Linked DNA regions of Homo sapiens: regions 2 and 3 are each linked to region 1. Evidence: promoter capture Hi-C in human tissues and cell types (Jung and others, 2019). All regions are on one chromosome and are shown on one strand. The core of a region is centred on a gene start or on the middle of the fragment in contact, and the rest is flanking DNA. Distances in the headings are between cores, read along the strand shown.

Region 1 (3,745 bases), core at 340-2,839:
GAACATCGGCAGAAGAGATGGAGAGCAAGGTGAGATCAAGATGCTTTGGCCAGAGTCAATGGCTGCTGCTAGACAGATTACCGGACAAAAGAGAGGGAAGAATAGAAGATGGTCACAGGTTTCAAGCATGAGAGGCCCTGCAAGATGGGGCCACAAATAAGGAGGAAGGACTGGAAGAAGAACAGGTTTGAGAAGCAGGGCAAGTTTGACGTGACTATTAGACATGCGTCTGGAGAAATCAAGCAGGTGTCTGAATTACAGATCCTGAGCTCAGAGCTGAAAACATGAATTAGTGAAATAAGGGGCGGGGGGGGCGGTGCTGGGGCACAGGGATATTTAAAGCCAAGAATTCAGCAAAGACCATAGGAAGAGCGTAGATAGGGAATGAGAATCGCCATTACTTGGAGGATGCCAACCTTGAAGGTAAAGCAGAGAAAGTGGCACCAGCAGAAGAAAACTTGATGTGGAGCGGCAGGTAAAGTGGAGGAGAAACCAGGAGTCGCTGTCACACACGAACACCCATCTTTCGTTGTCAACTGCAAAACTCACTGAGACCAACTTTTTATTCACGACAATTAATGGTAACTTAAGGACTCATTTTCTTTTTCTTTTTTTTTTGAGACAGAGCCTCGCTCTGTCGCCCAGGCTGGAGGGCAGTGGCGCGATCATGGCTCACCGCAGCCTCGACCTCCTGGGCTCAAGCGATCCTCCCACCTCAGCCTCCAGAGTAACTGGGACAACAGGAGCGCACCACTCTGCCTGGCTAATTTTTTTATTTTTAGCAGAGAAGGGAGTCTCGCTGTTGCCACGGCTGGTCTCGAACTCGCGGGCTCAAGTGATCCGCCCACTTCGACCTCCGCCACCGCGCCCGGCCCTAGGACCAACGTTAAGAGCTCCCTAGGAAAAGGCACCTTTTCTCTCGGCCCATTCGGTGATCGGCACTCACAGCGCTTCCACTCCGGGCAGTTACGTGCGCCCATGAAAAGCAACAACTTTGTAGAACTGGCCAGTCCTGTTAGCAGGAAGAACTCGGTAGTCTCAAACTCCAGCATAAAAAGATTCAGCAGAAGAAAACACCCGTGTGCTGAAGACTCCTACTTTCCATGCCACACTTTACATCCTCACCCGCTCGGTTTCTGCTTTAAAGCAGCAGATTTTATTAAAAAGACTTCGTTACGGACGTCGCTCCTCCACAGAGACAGCTACCGCCGCCCCTCAGGCTGGCCGGGACCGCCCCAGAACACCAGCGCCTGAGGCCGCGCGCCTGGAGGCTGAGCCCTGACTGCCCCCTGGGCACCGGCGCGGGGCGGCCGTCCGGGCCTGGACTCACTGCGCGCCCCAATTCCGCACCTGCCAGCGCCGGCGCTTCCAAGGCCCCCAGAGCGGGGGCGGCGCGCACCCCGGCCACATCCCGCCTGCCCGCCCGGCCCGGCCCCGGGAGACGCTCGGCCCGGCCGCCCGGGCCCGCCGCCGCCATCTTACCGTGCGGAACCTGCCTCCCGCGCTGCGCGGTCTGGGCGGCTGCGGCTCCGCAGCCTCTCCTGGGCTGGGGAGAGGTGGCGGCCGCCGGGGCGCCCGAGTAGAAGGAGGCAGAGGTGGGGGCCGCGGCGGAGGCGGGGGCGGGGGCGGGGGCGGGGAGCGGGAGGGCAGGCGCACCGGAGGCCGCCCCTCAGCACCTCTCGCGACAGCAAGAGAGCGCGAGAGCGCGAGCCGATGACCAATGAAGCGCCCCCGCGAGGGGGCGGGGCGGACGGCCTCCCGGAAGCGCGGAACCTCAGCTTCCGTACTTGCGCAGAACTCCCCTCGCGGCGACCACGCACTACGGGTTGGCGCCAGAGTCAAAAGGCGTCGGCCCTCTGGCAAGATGGCTGCTGCGGAGGCGTTGGAGCGCGGAAATCTGGAACCGGGATGGCGACGTCTACACTGAGTCGGAGGCGAAGGTCCCAGCTTTTTTCCTGTCGTTTGCGTGAGGCCGCACGGGGTGGGGCGGGGGAAAGGCGCCGGGTGTCCGCGGCCGCCCCTCAGACGGGGAGGGAGTCCCCTCCCGACCGGCGGCCTTCCAGGGCTAGTGTCCCTGAGGTCCAGGGAGAGACGGCTGACCCGAGACCGGGCTGGGCGAGAGCTGTGCTGTCTGCGCGTTGAAGCGAGTTCCCCCGCTTTACTCGAGATGTTGTTGAGCGCGTCCTCACTCGAGGCCAGGTGGGGAATCAGAAGGGCCCTGCCCTCAGGGCGCCTCCCATGGGCTACGCCGAAGGGCGGGACGCGGCCAGGGCGCGCGGGACAAAGGAGACCCCACTTGCTTGCGGGGCGGAGTCCCGGCGGCGGCGCGGGGCAGGGCCGGGGTTACTCGGTGACTGGAGACCCTCCCGGCAGGAGCGCGGGTTGAGGCCGCACTTGGGTATTTGCGCGTTTACTTGCTTATTGCCTGTCCGCTCAGGAGGAATGCGAAGTCTGTCATTGCAGGGTCCCATGTTTCCGTTGCTGGGAAGTACCTTAAAATATTTGATAGAGCCGAAGGAAGAAATAGAGTCCTTGAGGGGCAGCTCCTGATTTCATCTGTGAGGAATTCACGGGACGGCTTCTTTCTGAAGTCAGGGGTGAGGTGGTTTCGTGTGTTTGCTTACAAGCGAGCTGAACAACGTGTAAGCTATGTCGGTCGGTCTACTCAGCGACAGTAAGTCCAGTTCGGCAAATAGGTTGGAGGAGACTGATTTTGGACATTTTCCGTTAATCGAAAGAGCTAAATCTGCAGGTATAAGGTCTTGACAAAATTATGCTTCATATGCAGAGGCAGTACATGCCAGTAATTTTTTCATTTGCAACTACATAACCCTATGGGAAACAGTTATTGGTCTTTATTTAGTTATTTATTTTGAGACGAAGTCTCACTCTCGCCCAGGCTGGAGCGCAGTGGCGCCATCTCGGCTCACTGCAACCTCCGCCTCCCGGGTTCAAGCGATTCTCCTGCCTCAGCCTCCCGAGTAGCTGGGACCACAGGGGCGCACCACCACGCCCAGCTAATTTTTGTATTTTTAGTAGAGACGGGGTTTCCCCTTGTTGGTCAGGCTGGTCTCAGTGTCTTGACCTCGTGATCCGCCCGCCTCGGACTCCCAAAGTGCTGGGATTACAGGCGTGAGCCACCGCTCCCGGCCTATTTTGATTTTATTTTATTCTATTTTTTGAGAAGGAGTCTCACTTTGTTGCCCAGGCTGGAGTGCACTGTCATGATCTCGACTCACTGCAACCTCCGCCTCCTGGGTTCAAGTGATTCTCCTGCCTCAGCCTCCCGAGTAGCTGGAACTACAGGCACCCGCCACCACGCCCGGCTACTTATTTTGTATTTTTAGTACGGGTGGGGTTTCACCATGTTGGCTAGGCTGGTCTCGAACTCCTGACCTCAAATGATCACCCACCTCGGCCTCCCAAGGTGCTCGGATTACAGTCATGAGCCACCGCATCCGGCCTATTTTTATTTTTTAAAGTTTTTTAGAGACGGGGTCTTGCCTTCTTGCCCAGGCTGGTCTCGATCTCCTGGGCTCAAGCCATCCTCCCGCCTCGGCCTCTGGGAGTGCTGGGTTTACAGGCGTCAGCCACCATGCCCAGCCTGAACGTCAAGGAGAAAGTGTGCAAGGGGATGCACGAGCAGAAAGCTTGAGTGCTAGCGCCTTAAGGCGACATTCCTTAACATTCCAGTCCAAAGAGGCTGTCTCAGTGCCTGCCTGTGGGTCACAGGTTAATGCTCCTC
Region 2 (3,745 bases), core at 552-3,051, 330 kb before region 1:
TGAGGCCTTTGGGAGGTGATGAGGGGTCAAAGGCAGAGCCCTCATGAATGGGATGAGTGCCCTCATAAAAGGGGCCCCAGAGAGACCCGACGCCTTTCCCATGTGAGGACACAGAGAGGAGGTGCCGGCTCTTGGGCACAGACCCTCGCCCAGCCCAGAATATCCCCATGCCTTGATCTTGGACTTCCGGCCTCCAGAACTGTGAGAAATGAATTTCTGTTGCTCACAAGCCACACAGTCTGGTGGATTTTCTTACAGCAGCCTGAGCAGATTAAGACAAGCACCTCCCAAAGAATCACTGGCACAGCAATCCCTGTCTTCAGCCTCCAGGGAACCTGACCTACGACAGCAGCCCTCCCAGCTGGCATTCCGGCTGCCATGTGCTGTGATGGGTGCCAGCACCTCTTAGTTTGGGTGAAGGGGAGAGGCCAGCAGCATAGCAAAGGGGAAATCCTTCTGGATCGTCGCCTCTCTCTCTCCAACCCTCTCCATCACCAGCATCAACCTGCAAGTCAGGTCACCTTGAGCCAAAGCCAGAAAGCCCCACACTCGCTGGGCTGCTCCATGCTCAGGCTGTTCCCTGCTCAGCGCTCCACACTTCATGGTAGAGTCCCCTGAAGTTCTCCTGCCCAGAAGTTCCTTCTTTCTGCCCAGACCTCGCTCAGCACCATCATCCTAGGAATAAAATCCCAGGAATAAACTCATCATTCCAGGCCTCCTAGGAACTTGGGTTCTGGTCTTGTCTCTGCCCCGCCCTCTCGTGCAGCTGCTGGGGGCCTCCAGCCCCTGCTCACTCACCCACGCCCTCTGCACCCTCCACTTGAGAGAATTCTGGTCATTCCCCTGGCCCTGCCCTGCCCCGTTGTCTGGGAGTTGCTGGAGGGTTGGCTCATCCCCTCGCCCTCTCCCTGTCTCTTGGTGTGTCCGGCCAGGGCTCACACAGAGGCAGCTCCAGGGAAATTCCTGTAGCTCAACTGCTGGGTCCTGCATTGCCACCACAGTCACAGCCAGCTTGAGCGGTGACGGGGGGAAGAAGTGAGGCAGGGGAGCTGACTCGCAGGTGGGGCTTTCAGGAAGGAGGCATTCTACAACCCCAGGGCACCATGGGGGTGCCCCTTGGAGGCTTGAAAGCCCCTTTGGTCCTGGGCAGGACCTCCAGAGGGAGCACGGCCAGCAGTTTGGGGTGGACCTGCCCAGATCTTGTCTTCTGCATAAACAGGCACACGGCCTGGGCTTCCCTGCTACTCACACCTTGATTGGTGGCTTTCTTGCGTCCCCTCTATAGCAGAGGCTTGTTCATCTTAACCACTGAGGTCTCTTACGTTCTCTAACTGGCCTCTGATTGGAAGACAGGACTCTCCTGTCACAATCATCATTACTTTGTTTTACCTTCGATGTTGCACTGGACATCTTTGTGCGGTGACCTCTCTCTGTTTGTGCGAGTATTTCCACAACATAGACCTCTAGAGGTGGAAGTGCCAGGTAAGTTCTGGGAGATTCCACCAAATTGTCCTCCAAACCCCTGTGCCAGATGCGCTGATGGGAGTGTGCCTGTTCCTTGCGTCCCCTCCCTGGCTGCCATTACCAAGGGGGCTGTCTCCGCCGGGCTCTAAGCACACGCGTCGCCATCGCTGTTTAATTTTCTCATCTTAATGGTGGTGAGGCCAAGCAAACACGGCCTGGCCATGGTGTGTCCTGTGGATGCCTGTGTTTTTCTCTGCCCATTTTTGTCTCCTGTTGATCATCTTCCACCACCAGGTCCTTCTGAAACAGCTTTGTCCTGTATCTGGAGAGAAGCACGTGAGGTTGGCCCGGGGCTGCCCACGACGGTGCCGCCTGGGTCCTGGAGAGAAGCGCGTGGGGTTGGCCCGGGGCTGCCCACGACGGTGCCGCCTGGGTCCTGGAGAGAAGCGCGTGGGGTTGGCCCGGGGCTGCCCACGACGGTGCCGCCTGGGTCCTGGAGAGAAGCGCGTGGGGTTGGCCCGGGGCTGCCCACGACGGTGCCGCCTGGGTCCTGGAGAGAAGCGCGTGGGGTTGGCCCGGGGCTGCCCACGACGGTGCCGCCTGGGTCCTGGAGAGAAGCGCGTGGGGTTAGTGCGGGGCTGCCCACGACGGTGCCGCCTGGGTCCTGGAGAGAAGCGCGTGGGGTTGGCCCGGGGCTGCCCACGACGGTGCTGCCTTGGTCCTGGCTTCTGGCCTGCTGCATGGTGGGACTCCACCTGGCTGGTTCCAGCCCCGTCTGCCCCCACTTCTGCTGCCTGTGCGTGGCGTCCAGAAGAACTGGGGCCCAGGACAGAAGGAAATGGGAAGAATGTCAGGGTGTGTAAGTCACCCAGAAGTACAAATGTTCCTCGAAAATGCTGAGCCGCTCTGTCCTGAGCTCCAAGAAACTTGCAGCTGTGCTGAATTACGTGTGGCCACAGCGGCTAAGGAGTCACAGCTAAGAATGTGCTGAGACCAGGCCAGCTTCTCAGATTGCAGAACTGGTAGCTCAGATCCTGGGGCTGTGACAGCTGGACCCGCAGGGTCCTCCTGCTTTGGACCCTCCCATGCGTATCTTAGCCAGGAATCTTTCCAGATTCTAGTTGCTAGAGGCAAAAATCTCAACCCCAAATGGCTTAGCAAAGGGAATGTATTGATTTGTGTGATGAAAATTCTAGAACAAAGTTCAATTTCAGGTGTGGCTTGATCCAGCAGCTCAGCACTATTGCTGAGAACCAGGATTCTCTGTGTATGTTTGCAGTTCCGTCTTCATCCTGAGACCCCAGGATGCTTCTGGCAGCTTCTAAGGCTGCAAGCTTCATGATTCGCCTCCAGCAAGAGAAAGTAGCCTTGCACCGGCATCCCAGCTGAAAGCTCACGCTCCACCCTGATGGGCCTAGCTGGGGTCATGTGTCCACTTCCAAACAATCACCGGCCAGGAGGATAGAATGTGCTGACTGGGTGCCCTGGGCTCCAAGCTCCAGCCCTGAGGCCCATGTGGACTCAGTTTCCCCAGACTGTGAGGACCCCTAGCAGAAGACCAAGGTGTTGGGCACGGAGGGCGAGGTATTGAGAGCCTTGCCTCAAACCGGTGCTGTGTGGCTGGGCTTCCATGGTCCCGAGGGACCGGGAAACTCTTCCTGTGTGATCGGAGTTGTTCCCATGTGTCCCCAGGCCCAGCCAGTTGCCGACAGCCAGAGCGGTACCAACACTGGTGACCGAGTGGTGGGCATTACCAGCTTCCCAAACTGGGATGCCTCTCTCCTGCAGGACGGGGCAGTGTGAGGGTCGGGGCAGGGAGGGTGGGGGGAGAGAAAGGACTGGGCTATGGGGGCACTGAGACATCTCCCCACCCCACCCCTGCCCAGGAAAGGGGGGCAGGGCTTGTGCAGAGGCATATAAACTGTAGGCCTGATTAGCAGTTTAAAATGTTGTTTCAGGCTGGGTGCCGTGGCTCACACCTGCAATCCCAGCACTTTGGGAGGCCGAGGCAGGGAGATCACCTGAGGTCAGGAGTTCGAGACCAGCTTGGCCAACATGATAAGACACTGTCTCTACCAAAAAAACAAAAATTAGCTAGGCATGGTGGTGGGTACCCATAATCCCAGGTACTCAGGAGGCTGAGGCAGGAGAGTTGCTTGAACCGGGGAGGTGGAGGTTGCAGTGAGCCAAGATCGAGATCGCACCAATGTACTCCAGCCTGGGCGACAGAGTGAGACTTCATCTAGAAAAATAAACTAAAAATAACATTGTTTCAATATTA
Region 3 (3,745 bases), core at 628-3,127, 270 kb after region 1:
TGTTGCCCTTGCCGCTGTCCTGTGACGTAGCCCTTTTCAAAACCACCTCTCCCAAGTGCTGCACCACTCCTCCTCCATGCCCAGGGACCGCGGGTGCTTGGGGCCCCGACGCGTACCCAGGTGCCATCTGGCCCTCACCTCCCGCCGTAGCTGGCTGTGACGCCCGCCATGGGCACACTGGGGCAGTGCAGTGAGAAGACGAGGATGCCCAGCAGGCTGACAACGGTGCAGAACAGGCAGAACTTGATGACCGCGGAGCCCCGGAGCCTGAGCTTGTTCACAAAGAAGCCGCCCAGGAAGGTGCCGCCACCACCCGCTGGCACCACCAGGTACCCTGGGGAGAGGGAGGGATTCAGCCAGGGACTCAGGCAGGGGGCCGTGGTGGGAGAGGGTGGTGGATCAGCCGGGTCCACTTTACAGGTGGGGAAACTGAGGCATAGAGGGATCAATTCCTGCCTGCATGGCAGCACTCAACACCACACCTGAGTGCTTAGCTGTTGCGCTGATAGAGCCCTAGGAGGGACCTCTGTCCAGAGCCCACAGCGGGGATGCCTCAGAGGGGAAGGGGAAGGGGAAGGGGAAGGGGAAGGGGGAGCGGGGGGGCGGGGCGGGGCGGGGGGAGGAGGAGAGCCCAGAGTGCTCCAAGGTCAGCGGCCCCTGCCCCAGTGGGAAGCCAATGACTCCTCCACTGACCCCCCTCCAGGGCAGCCACACCCCCTCCTCCCCCAGGGGCCTCTGCCGAGTCCCTGCAGGCTGTGACAAGGACATTTGTCGAAGCCTGAGTGGCCACCAACAGTAAAAAATTGCGATTAGCTGGCATCTAGCTTCTGGGCTGACAAGTGAGGAGGGCACAGGTGAGGGGACAGGTGGAGAGGGGACAGGTTTGGGGGGACAGGTGGGGAGGGGACAGATTTGGGGGGACAGGTGGGGAGGCTCTCCAAGGGGCAGTAGAGCTGACCTCTGGGGGGCTGTTGAGTGTGGGAATGTGGGCTTGTGAGGTCAGCCCAGAGGGGCCAGGCCAGGATGGGCCTGTGGGGGAGGGAGGGGAGCCCTCATCTGATGCCCTCTTCCTGTCCAGATAGTGGACCCTGGAAGGGTAGAGCGCGGTAGATTGGCGGTGGTGGCCCACATGCCTGGCACCTCTGCCATGGCCCAGGGTACTCTGTGAACGCTGGCAGGAGGAGCAGCTCTGAGGAGGGGTCCCCACTTTCTGCAGACCTGCCCAGCCTGGGAAGGCCAGCCTGCCTCTGGCACCGAGAAACCCCCAGCTGCACTGTTCCAGGAGGTCCTGAGGCACCAGTGCCTGGCTCATGGAACAGCCAGGTCCAAACCCTTCCTGCACCAAGTCACAGAAGCCAAGACTAGGTGGCTAGGGGGTGGAGCCCACCGTGGACCCTTCCACCTACGGAGCATGTCCCACAAAGAGGGCAGGACCACCACTCTCCCGGCCTGTGGACAGAGTCGCTCAGCCCCCGTGGCGCTCTCCACACCTGCTCTGGCAGCGGGGGTGGGAGGGCACTCACTGCCATGTGCCCTGTCTGGGTCTTTCTAGAAGATGCCCTTGAAGACTCTGTTTCTGAGAACTGACATAAAAGCAGAGGACCCCCAAGATTCAGTTTTCTCACCAAACAAGGTGGCAGCTTCTGAGGCACTCAGGCTGAACTGGGACTCCAAGAACTTGGGGCTGAACGTGGACATGCCGGTGATGAGAGTGGCCTCGGTGGCCCCGGCCAGGCAGAGCAGGATGAACGTGGGGTTCTTCAGCAGGAGCCAGATGGAGCTGGGCAGAGGTGGGGGTGTGGAGAAGAGACTGAGGGTCAGAGTGGTGGGCAGAGGTCGGGGTGTGGAGAAGAGACTGAGGGTCAGAGTGGTGGGCAGAGGTCGGGGTGTGGAGAAGAGACTGAGGGTCAGAGTGGGCCAGACCCAGGGTGGGAGGAACCTGCTGTTCCTGAGGCTGTCAGCTCCCCGGTCTGATTACAAAGGGCCCCTGTTCCGACAGGGAGTAGAGTGGGGTGCAGGCAGGTGGGGGACACCCACACTTATTCCAGAGAAACCCAGGGGGCGCCAGGCTGAGCCTATGCCTGTGGCCCACTTGTCCTGAAAGCTGCAGTCCCTGATTAGGGAAAAACCTTATCAGTGCCTTGGCCAGAGCTTCAGCTCAGGTGGGGAGAGACCCCAAGTGACCCAGGACCCTGTTCCGTCACTGGCCAGCAGCAGGGCCTGAAAAAGGGAACTGGCTGGGGCAGGCAGAGGCCACCAAGTCCAGGACCGGACAGGCCCTGGGATAGGGGAATGGAATCACGGGAATGGGGACTGTGGCCAGTCCCCAACCGCCAGCCCCTGGGAGAAGTGGGGCAGGAAGCCACTGGGATTCGAACCCTCCATGCAAGAAGCCCCTGGGTAGACGGACCTGGCTAGCTTGGTTTGCACTTGGGGGCCAGTGGCCCTGGGGGTGGTGAGGCCTCAACTGGGGCGAGTCCTTGGTGCATGGGCCTGGAGCCCTGGGGGGAACTGTGGGAACTCTGAGCCGTCTGGCCCTGAGGGCTCAGCCTCAGCCTCCACATCTGCCTGTTGCGGTCCTGGCTGTGGGGTCTCAGGATAAGGACATAGCCCCCTGGAAGCTGGGAAGGCCCCACATCAGGCCTTGCAGTTTCTAACCCAGGAGGTGGCCGACAGCAGTGCGTCGGGGCTGCCTGTCCCTGCACACGAGGCCCTGGGGGGTGAATGGAGGCTCTCCCTGTTTTTGTTAGCATTGGAGGCCTGAGCAGGGCTAACGCCCAACCGCTGCTTAAGCGCATAAGATGCTGAGATGGAAAACGTGTTGCATGGTGTAAACCACGCAAAGCCCTCCCAGCCAGTGCAGTGATCGAGGCAGACAGAAGGGAAACCGCCTCTGCAAAGAGAGGCTCGGCTCTCTCTGGGGTACACAGATCACCCAGACTGGGCAAAGCTCACATTCATCCCAGCTCACAGCTGCCTGCATCCTGTTCACAGCACGCTCCTGTGCGTGACCCTTCTCCCCCACTGAGTGGGGGGCTCTCGGCCTCAGGTGGGGGTGTTTGCAGACACAGCTATTGTCCTGTCCCTGGAACTCATAACATAGACCAGGGGCAGAGACTGTTCCTGAAGCCCCAGGTCATGGCACAATAGCCTCTCACATCAGCCCACAGTAATGCAAATTTTCACAATAAATGACATGTCCATGTCGCCTCTGCTCACACCGCAGTGTCGCTGACTTGAACCCCTGCGTCTGCAGCTTAGTGACATCCTGTAAACCTACACTTTCCAGCCTCTCACCAGAGCAGACTGTCGGCCTCACATCACCCCCACCTGCAGGAGGGCGGCTCTTTCCTCTCGGCCACACCTAGAGCCTGGTTCCGATGAACGCAACTCTGAATGCCTGGAACATTCAAATGCTCTTGTTTGAGGAGGTGGCCAAATGTAAATGGATTCTGAAGAATCAGGAACAGACGGTGCAGCCCTAGTTAGCCTCTGAGCCCCAACAGGCCCACAGGTGCCTTGCAGAGCTGATGTTGGCGTCAGAAACTCCGCTCCAGCCTCACAGGCACTCTGCCTGCTTGGAGGTGTTCGCTGGCTCGCTCAGACTGACCTCAGCAGCCATGAACATGGGTTCTTTCTGTCCCCTTCCCTGATTAAAATGGGAGAGCCCAGTTCTTTCAAAATTTATTTCCTGACTTGAGGATTGAAAAGCCTCTTCTTTCTGGTTAACTACTTGGGTCCCACG

What was found. Contacts are between HindIII fragments. The study calls those that stand out against the background at their distance.
Region 2: a fragment that was not itself captured here is called in contact with the fragment with the promoter of GID8 in region 1 in 1 of the 25 tissues and cell types used here (spleen).
Region 3: a contact is called between a fragment that was not itself captured here and the fragment with the promoter of GID8 in region 1, in 1 of the 25 tissues and cell types used here (spleen).

What each region holds. Positions count from the first base shown.
Region 1 is chr20:62,935,991-62,939,735 of GRCh38, reverse strand. GID8 (GID complex subunit 8 homolog) reads right to left here and starts at 1,589. Exons shown (of 5, transcript NM_017896.3): 1 at 1,483-1,589. It also overlaps a transcript of DIDO1 not described here. RefSeq lists silencers at 1,219-1,348, 1,419-1,648, 2,019-2,068, 2,339-2,388 and an enhancer at 855-1,523. The HindIII fragment of the contact is 10,021 bases long and covers 1-3,745 here.
Region 2 is chr20:63,265,029-63,268,773 of GRCh38, reverse strand. No RefSeq gene overlaps it. Among named protein-coding and RNA genes, the nearest start is that of ARFGAP1, 5.9 kb to the left of the region's middle. The HindIII fragment of the contact is 7,334 bases long and covers 1-3,745 here.
Region 3 is chr20:62,662,969-62,666,713 of GRCh38, reverse strand. It overlaps SLCO4A1 (solute carrier organic anion transporter family member 4A1), which reads right to left. Exons shown (of 12, transcript NM_016354.4): 6 at 1,626-1,780; 7 at 139-334. It overlaps SLCO4A1-AS1 (SLCO4A1 antisense RNA 1), which reads left to right and starts at 93. Exons shown (of 4, transcript NR_024470.1): 1 at 93-329; 2 at 704-854; 3 at 1,217-1,790; 4 at 3,227-3,687. The HindIII fragment of the contact is 7,352 bases long and covers 1-3,745 here.